2 separate regions of the Homo sapiens genome follow, and region 1 is linked to region 2. The links are contacts of gene promoters, found by promoter capture Hi-C in human tissues and cell types (Jung and others, 2019). All regions are on one chromosome and are shown on one strand. Each heading gives the region's core, a stretch centred on a gene start or on the middle of the fragment in contact. The rest is flanking DNA. Distances are from core to core; before and after follow the strand shown. Region 1 has its middle 100 kb from the start of NEBL. Region 2 holds the start of SKIDA1 (SKI/DACH domain containing 1).

What was found. The method cuts DNA at HindIII sites, captures the fragments that hold promoters and counts their contacts. A contact is called where the count stands out against the background at its distance.
Region 1: a fragment that was not itself captured here is called in contact with the fragment with the promoter of SKIDA1 in region 2 in 2 of the 25 tissues and cell types used here (dorsolateral prefrontal cortex and mesendoderm cells).

The regions. Positions count from the first base shown.
Region 1 is chr10:20,997,359-21,002,149 of GRCh38, reverse strand. It overlaps a transcript of NEBL not described here. Among named protein-coding and RNA genes, the nearest start is that of NEBL, 100 kb to the right of the region's middle. The HindIII fragment of the contact is 5,722 bases long and covers 556-4,791 here.
Region 2 is chr10:21,522,956-21,527,500 of GRCh38, reverse strand. It overlaps SKIDA1 (SKI/DACH domain containing 1), which reads left to right and starts at 1,819. Exons shown (of 4, transcript NM_207371.4): 1 at 1,819-1,954; 2 at 3,630-3,818. RefSeq lists silencers at 1-40, 1-219, 230-349, 795-944, 1,065-1,484 and enhancers at 1,140-1,783, 1,784-2,427. The HindIII fragment of the contact is 2,515 bases long and covers 485-2,999 here.

The sequences.
Region 1 (4,791 bases), core at 2,167-4,666, 530 kb after region 2:
ACATCAAGGATATCTTCCTCTTGTCTAAGAAGCACCTACTCCTTTTTGGAGGTTGACATTTACATCGAGCGAGTACCTTTCATCTCTGAAAAAGAAAAAGAAATACGTGTAGAAAAACCCAACTAACTAACAAATCACCTTAATTACTACCTGCAGAGAAAAAGGGTTGGCTTTATGTTTCTTTTTTAATTGTGTGTGTTTTTAGCTCAATCCACAAATGAGAAATAAGTGTTGGTGGAAAAACAGAGACCAGTTTTGCTTATATATGGTGTGGTGGGTGGAGAGAAAGGGTACATCAGATTGCTACCTAACAGAGCGAGGAAATCAGTTCTTATTTTCCATTAGAAAACAAAACAAATGGCAATTAATCCATTCATGTCTGAGGTTGCAGGTTTTTGAATTTTTGCAATCAGACCTTGGCGATGACCTTGAGCAGTAGGATATAAATAACTCCCACATGCTTAGAGTTCCAATGATGGAACACTAGGCATAAATGGGCTAAAGACAAAAAAAAAAAAAGTTGTGAGTATATTGACTTCCCAAGGAGCACTAGGCTTCTGCAATAAGTTCACCTGTGGATTGCGTGTTAGTTACCTCCTAATTACTGAAAATTGAGCTTTATCAGTAGTGGCATGATGTTCCTTGGGGTTTCTTTCCCTGGAGTATCTGTGATAATGCCATAGCTTGTCTTGCAAATCATTTATTTTGCTAGGCTATGAAATGATGTCCACCTTACAAGTTGGAAAAATCTTTCTGATAGGAAGAACTCTGGCTGTGTTCCACCTCCCTGGATTCTCTGATTCCCAGCTGCTACGTGGCTCCCAGCTTGTCCCAGGGAATGTCTGTGGGACAAGACATTCTCTTTACTTGCCGATTTTCCTCTAGCACTAGGTACCTGTTTTCACCTGGAATGTGACAACCAGGTGCTGTTAGCTTTTTGTCTCTGGCGGTCTGTCGGCTGGCTGGACCTGGGGAAGCAGGCAATAGAGTCTAGGCCTGGGGTTAGACTAGCATTTTCCTGACCACCTCCATCCCTCTGACATCTTACCTGCTGCTTTCTGTGGAGAAGGGAGGATCTATACAAGCTCATGGGGACCTGCATTGGTTTCCTGAGGGAACTGCAGATGATTGGGTGTGCAGGAGCGAATTCCTGACCAGGAAGTCAGGACCCTCCTGTGCTGGCTTTGTCTGCAGGAGACCAGCTCTCCAGCTCTATCTGGGCTTCTTCCCTTTTTCTCTGCCCTTAAATCCCAATGTGGCCCTTCCTGGCCATCCTACCTTTTTTCTCTCCCTTCAATGCACTTGATTTCTCTCCAGTGAATCAGCTTTCTTCCATATCTTAGACTGCAAAAACAGCAGAGCATCCAGAAAGACAAGAGACATCTTACCTGATGTCATCTGCTCCATTGCAGTCTTTTGCTCACTTTGTCATTTTGGGGTGTTGCTTTCTCGTTTTGGGAGCCTTATTTCTGTTTGCAGTAAGTATTTAACCTTCTATCTCAAAATGTTCAGAGTTTCAATTTAAACAAATTCTTACCCACTTGATTTTATTTTTCTACAAATGTTTTGCTCCTTCCTTTGCAAAGGCTGGTCTCCTGCTTGACTCATTTACCTGGGAATGGGTGGCTTCTCTCTCTTTAGAGACCTCTGTTCTTTGCAGAAGGTCAACATTCTGCAACCCTGTGTAGATGGGGAGGGATAAATTTGTTTGGCCAGGAAAAGTCACTTTTGACAGGGGACTAATGGGGGGACCAGAATCCCCCCTACCATAGTGCAGCATGGGACACAATAAACCACCCCATCCAGCTAGCACTCAGGGCCTCTCTGTAGCTATTTCCTGGGGCCATGCTGGGGCCATATGGCCCCTTGAGGGCAGGGCAATAATCTGTTGTGGTAGCTGCAGCTCCCTCTGCCCCCCTCTGGCCCCCCATGCCCCCTCTATACCCCCTCTATTCCCCCTCTATCCCCCTCTGCCCCCTCTCTGCCCCCCTCTGCCTGGCTTTTTCCTTGCCCTAGTGGCCAAAGCTCTTCACTAGATTCACCGAAGATGGTGACACTGCCACGGGCCGCCTTCCAAACTACAATAGTTCGTGGCAGCAGTGAAAGCTTAATTTTTTAAAACCTTCCATCAGAGGAGGAAGTGCTTTGTAGTAAATGACTACATTGCTGGAAATCACTTACTGGCGTCGTCTTGATTATATTCCTTAGTCATTACGGTTTGCATCACATGATCTTTTCTCAAACATCAGCATGGGGAACCAACGATGAAATTGCATTTCTTTGAATTAGAGTATAGATTATTATGGGAGAAGAAAGACATTAAAGGAGCAGCGTTCATGTTTATGTTTGAAGAAATACGACAGGCTTCACAGCCTCCACGGCAGTTAAAGCGGGGGTTGTAAGAGAACATGGAGCCATCAGACCTCATTGCCTTAGATAGGTCCCAGTGAGTGTAGGGAAAATGCTTTGGCTTTTACAACCCTGGGTATATAGATCCTGGATATAGAATCAGTTTGGTTTGTATTTCTTTTTCTTTTTTCTTTTGTGAGGTGAGACAGGGTCTCACTCTGTTGCCCATGCTGGAGTGCATTGATGCAATCACAGCTCACTGCAGCCTCAACCTCCTGGGCTCAAGTGATCTTCCTACCTCAGCCTCCTGAGTAGCTGGGACTACAGGCATGCATCACTATGCCTGGCTAATATTTTTAAATTTTTAGTAGGGATGGGGTCTTGCCATATTGCCCAGACTTGTCTTGAACTCCTGGGGTCAAGCAACCCTCCCACCTTACCCTCCCAAAGTGCTGAGATTACAGGCGTGAGCCACTGCATCCAGCCTGGCTTGTATTTCTTGTGGGGCTGGGAGAATATAGCATCACTGCAGGTCTTCTCACACATAATTGGGCAATCAATAAATGATTGTTGGAATAAACCAGAGTCTTACTCAGAGAGTACGCCTTTCTTCCCTGACAGCCTTTTTTTTTTTTTTTCCCCCCACACACCTCTGGGTTTCTGTACAGTTTTTGTATGGTAAAAGCCAAGGATTTGGAAATTTTTGGTGCCGCAGATAAAAATAAATAATTCAAACATAAGTCTGGGAAAGGGAATGAATTATTGTTTGCTTGGACTTCTTTACTGGCTCTGACTCCAGGCCTTGCCTAACCCTGAACACCCAGCATATCTTCACTTGTTCCAGATGGCGGATCCTGTTTTGTTGGCGGCCCCCAGAACTTGCTGCGGTGTGACCTTCCATCCTTGTCATCTCACAGTCCTCATGATCCGTATATCAGACTGACAGAAGTTAGTCCATAGACAAACAAAGTGATCGAATTAAGGGACTTCATTGGGGCTAGTTGTGAATTCAGATTGTGACTTTTAGGGGGTGTCAGAGTTGACATGTTGCAGAGTGTTCAAAGCAATGCCAGTTGGATTTTTAATGTAATATGCAGATTGGATAGTATTATTGCTGTGTGCATTATTGGAATTTCTATTCTTCCTGGCCATCTGCTTGGTTATATATGTCTTAATTCTGATGTTAAGTATGAGATGTAGACGTAGCATTTTTATGGTTCTACCATTTCCCCTGCCTTCTTTTATCTGCACATTTCTTGAAGCAGCCAGGAGCCATGGTTTCTAAATGCCTATTGTTGAGAGCCCTGGCAAGAGTGGAGACCTTATCTTTGGATTCCCCATAGATTCTAGATGAATGAATGAGTTATTGGAAACAATAACAGACATTATTTACTGGGAGTTAACGATGAGCCAGTTGTTTGCTAAGGCTTTTTGTAGAGTATCTCATTTAATCTTCCCCATACCTTTCTTAGGTTAGCATGATTGTTCTCATTTTGTAGATGAGGGAGCTGTGGCTCAGAGAAGTCATGTAAACTGCCTGAGGCCACACGGCTACTCAGGGTCCTTGCTAATATTTGGCCTCAGGACTTTCCGACTCCAAAGCCTGAGATGTTTCTTATTAGCTATCTCAGCATTGTCATTATTATGACATTTCTGTGATTTCCATACCGTATCGTATCAGTGATATGACATTTTAGGTTTAAAATTCTCCAGGATCTCTTCATTAGGTGAAATTTTTATATTTGGACTTTTAAAAATTGTGATTTCTGATAAATAGCCTTTTATTGTATTTAATTTATTTTTTGGCTCCATTTGATTTTCATCATTCCTGAATGTTTTTAATACTTTTAATTAAGTTATGTAGTAAACTTTTCATTTGGAGGTCAATGATTTTAGCCAGTTTATTATTTTAGCAGCACTCTGTTTTGTTGGCTGTACCCATCTTAACTGGTATTGAATAAATGTCCTCATGTTTTCTGAGCTTACTGATTTTTAAATTCAAATTCTGTATAGGATCCTATCTCAAGCATCTAATGTTTTCAGTTATTGCTATACTACTGATCAGAACATTACCACTGAAGCTATTATAAAACCAATGAAATAATATATTATTCACATTTCAAAAACATTTTAAAAAGTAGATCTGATCATAGAAAGTACCCAATTATATTAGAAATTTGCTTTTCTGTGTAATGATACTTTGTTAGGAACTGGTTGAACACTTTAATCCATAGTGCATTGCAGGGTTGGCTACTAATCCGAATCCTAAATTCTTCAGGAGTTCTGTTTTTTTTTTTTTTTTTTTTTTTTTTTTTTTTTTTTTTTTTTTACTGAGACTGTGCGTTTATTTGGTGTGGTTTGCGGCTGTAGGGATGGGGGTACCTAATGGTGACTGTGGCCACTTCCTTCCCCACCTTGCCCCCCTTGGCAGTGCCATGGGGA
Region 2 (4,545 bases), core at 570-3,069:
GTCTGACCATCAAAACTTGCCGCGCCGGCCCGACCCGACCCGGCCGGAGCTCAGGAGCCCGGGGAGGCGCCGACGGGGGTCGGGTTGGCCCGCGGGGCCCCTCCCTCGGTCAGGACGTGCTCGGCTAACAGCGGTGCTAGGGCAGAACAATGGGGGCGGCCCGGCGGGCGCGAGGAGCCAGGTCCCGCTTCCTCCGGCGCGCCGGCCCCGCGCCCGGCCCCCGCCCCCCGAGGCCTTCCCCGCCTGCCTCTTCGCGCTCGCCAGTCCCGCCGCGCCTTCCTCCAGCTGCCCGGCCCGGCGCACGCCCCGCCGCCCGCACGCCTTCTTCCCCGCCCGGACCTAGCGGGCCCTCCTTCCCCCGATTCCAACCCACTGCGCTTCCTCCCAAGACTCCAGCTTCTTCCCCTCAGCCGCCGCCTTCGCGCCCTTTTCTGAATGTATTTTTACAATTTCCCCCTTCATTTCCAAAAGTGGCTGAGAAGTCTCGCTTCCATCTTAATGTTGATTTGCTATTTCCCTCCGGAAAAGATTTCCTCAGGAAACCCCAAATCTAGAAGGAAATACAGCAAACCCTAGAACGCTTTTAACCCTTAAGACATCTTGTATTAAAAGAAAAAAAAAGCATGTATGTCTTAAAACCGGCCAAAGAACCATCTCCTCGCTCTTTATTTCCTCCTGTAAATGCTATTATTTTAAACTCTCCATTTTAAACTCGTCCTTCGGACGAGAGGGCAGAGAATGTGCCCGGCAGCACGCAGCAAATCAGAGGTTTTATCTTACGCCTCCTGGGACTGGGAAAAAAAGTGGAACGTGGCCGAGGGAGCTTCCAGGGCAGAAAAGCGACACAATTCGCTGGGGACGCCGCTGGGCCAGGCCAGGCGGGGGAGGCGCGGCGGGGGCGTCGAGGGCTCTCGGGCTCCGGGCCGGGGCGCCGCTGCGAGGAGGGGAGGCGGTTTTAAGTCATGGGGGCTGGGAGGGCGGCGGCGGGTCGGGCGTGACGAGACTTTCGGAGGCAGGATGGGGCGGCGGTGGAGTTGCCTGGGCTTTCTCAGCACCCCCCCCAACACACCCAAATAAAAAAAGGAAAGTTAGAAGGAGGCGGAGAGGAGGACAGCCATCCCCATTTCCTCCCCGCGACGCCGCGGAAGGGCTGGGGCCGCTGCGAGCAGAGAGAGGGCGCGGGATGAGGCGGGCCAATCGCAGTCAACAGGTCCAGGCCTCAGTGGGGCAGCTGAGCCGGGAGGCCGGCGCCCCCTCCCCTCGGCTCCCCGTCCCTCCCCTCCCTCGCAGGCCCGGCGCGGTAGGGGAGGCCCGGCCCGGCCCTCCCCGCCCCGCGCGGACTCGCTGCGGCCGACTCCGCCGGGGCAGTCGGGGTGGGGGTGGGGCGGGGGTTCCCCGCCGGAGAATCCTCCCCCGGGGCTGGCGGCGGGGGCGGGGAGCGAGAGCCGGGAATGGAGGATTAGGAAGGACTCCAGCTCGGCACGAGCGCGGCCCGCGCGAGGGATCCTGGGTAAAAAGTGGCCGCGCGGCACCGGAGAGCGCGGAGAGGAGCCGGGGTCAGGGGTCACGGCCCTGGAGCCCCGCGTGCAGAGCCCCCCACGTGAACGCAGCGAGCAGGAGGAACCTTTTTGTTTTCGACCGCGCCAGCATGCTCCCCTATTGACCGAGCTGCTTTTCCTGGGCTGCTGGGGAGAGGAGCTCCATTGCGGAGCTCTTAACCCCACCCCCACCTTCCACCGCCAACACACTTCCCAACTCAACCCTTCCTCTCAACTCTCATCCCAGCCCCCCGTCCTGAGCTTGCAATAACGCAGTAAATTTGCTTTAACAACAAGTGGGGGTGGTTGAATTTACTCCTCCCTCTCCTCTCTCCTCCCCTTCCTCTTGCTGCGGTTCTTGACACTACTACAAACCAGGACTATAAACATAAACATGTGTCACTGTAACAGGGCAGGTAATATACGGATTTTGAGGCGGGGTGGGGTGGAGCGGGGCTTGGTCGCCGCTTGGAGGGCAGTAAAAAGTCGCGTTTCACGTGCTCGACGGCTTTGGGGACTCCCGCACACATCGATCCGTTTATATAATGCCGAAGGCACTTGGTCACTTATTCAGCCACGCAGACCCACAAAGCCAGACTTGCGGATAACCAGCGTACCCCAAAGCAAATGCATTTCAATACGAATCCCTCTCCTTTCCCAGCCAGTGCTGCCATTTCTTCTATTAGCAAACAGTAACGTGATACTTGAATCCCCTTTCCTTTTTAAAAATTCTTTTCCAGATAGCCATGAGATCATTTTTCGACCTAAATAGTACATCTCTCCCATAGCCACTACCTACACATTTTGTGCGCAGAAACCCCTTCAAACAGCAAGAAAGTCTATTTAAATGACTGAGTTCGAAATCTGGTGTGCAAAGGGTATTTCTTGGGCTTTGCCTCCGTGCATTGAGCAACTTCTGCTGCAAGTTGCTGACACTGGCGCGGTGGAGATCCGCCACAGCAAGCCTTTTTTATTATTATTTAGTCTATATCTGCCTCTCAACTTTTTTCTCATTCTTAGTTCAACAAGCCAGCAACCACTACTTAAGGTAGAGTAAAGCGAATCCCTTCCCAAGCTTTTTGGCTTGAAACGGAGGGAGATACAGAAAATGTTCAGATGGGGAAGTGGTTCCCTTTGTTCTTTCATTGTTTCTCTACGAACTGGTGGATACAAGGACAAACACTTACCTTCTCTTCTTTTTGCTCCACAAACCAGACGTTCCCATCAGCCTTAAAATACACAATCCACCTTGAAAGTAACTACGGATGTCGGGAGAGTTTGTATTCCATTCTTTTTCGCTCTCTGCCCTCTTTTAGCGTAGGATTAAGTTGCAGAGCACGTTGCTGCAAGCTGTAGCCCCCCCCCCCCCCCGCCTTAGTGAATCGGTCACGTTTAGGACCCTCTAAGTCCATCCTAATTCTGCCAGTAGAATTGAGGGTATTGGAGCTCTAAACTTTCAAAAGGAAAGGGGCCTGCAACTCTCCAGAAAACTTACAAATACCCCGAAATTTTTTACCATTGTGTTTTTGCACCACATCACCAAATAGTATTTGCCAAGAAATAATAGATATGTCTTTGAGAAAAAAAAATTTTTTTAAGTTTATACTTAGCAATGCGCTGCTTAGACAGATGTAGTAAAAGGCAGGTTTGTATCGGCATTTAACGGAATGAGTGCGTTTTCCATAACGTTTGTTGTGCCATGTGTTTTTTTAAAACACAAACAAAACACTACCCCAACTGAGAAAGGAAATAGAAGTTTGAATTAAAATGTTGTGGAACAACTTTAAAAGAGACGTTTACTTGAAATTTATTAGTGTAAAAATTGGCCTCAGAAGTGAAAAGTAAGCTTTTCAAAGTTAAAAGACTTAATTTTCACCCTATGATTCCATAACAAAAAAGCGAATTTTCTGGTTAATATGTGATACTGTCAGTGTTGAGTGTCCAGTCTTTTGGGTCTTAGTGTCCAAACCTTGCTCAAATCTGATTATGATGTGATTTGCTGATGTCATGAATATGAAATGATACTTGTGTATCCATAAATTCGAACTTGTGATTTTTTTTTTTTTTTTTTTATCTCCCGCTTTTTTGTAGGTTCCCAGTAGCTGCAGCAGTGAAAGACAGTGATTGGCTCCAGTGCTCCCAGAAGGATTTGGGCTGAAGCCAGGGGAACAGAACCAGAAGAGGATTCCCTTTCCAGAGACCATCAGGCTCCTCATGTCTTGTCTCTCCTCTCTCCCCTCGTGGTGGCTCAGGATTTCAGTATGGCTGAGCAGCCCATAGGTAGGCCTCAACACTTGGTGTCACCACTTCAGTCTCTATATGTTTGGCCCTTGTGTAAAATAAACAAAAACTTGGGCAACCCTAACAAATTGTGGTTCTGGATATTTGTGTATTATTTAATATCTGAAGGTCAAACTCTACTTTCTCTGATTTTTTTTCTTTTGCATTCAGGATCAATTGTGAAAGGCCCATGTGTCTCATAGGAAAATATTACAACAAAACAAGATAATTGGGGGGAAAGGCGGTTGCAGTAGGAAAAGTGGCTTTTCTTTGATAGCATTTAATTGGAATTAAAAGATTCTTGAGCTGTAAACATTCTTTATTTATTCAGCACACATAAGCAGGCATTGTTTTATCACCATCATAATTATGGTGTCCTTTAAACTGGCTGATAGCAGGAAAGATAAGGGAATGTGCCCACAGATTCAGATCAAGTCTCACTCCTTTCTTTTCCTCCCTGCCCCCTTCCCCCCACCCCATTCCTTCCTTGGTCACTAGGGTCCCCCACAGCCCTTGAGATGAGAAGAGCAGGAAGATTGTGGCCTAGCCGTTTCTTACATCATGAAAGTGATTTGTACCTCACTCTAATTTGATGCAATCTATAACCTCCTTGTCTCCTATGTTTATAACTGGTTTTTAGCTTGCAATATATGTTATCTGGAGGTGCCTATTGCTCACCTGTGTAAAATCTCATCCACTAGGATTTGTTGCTTTACCTTTGTCTAAT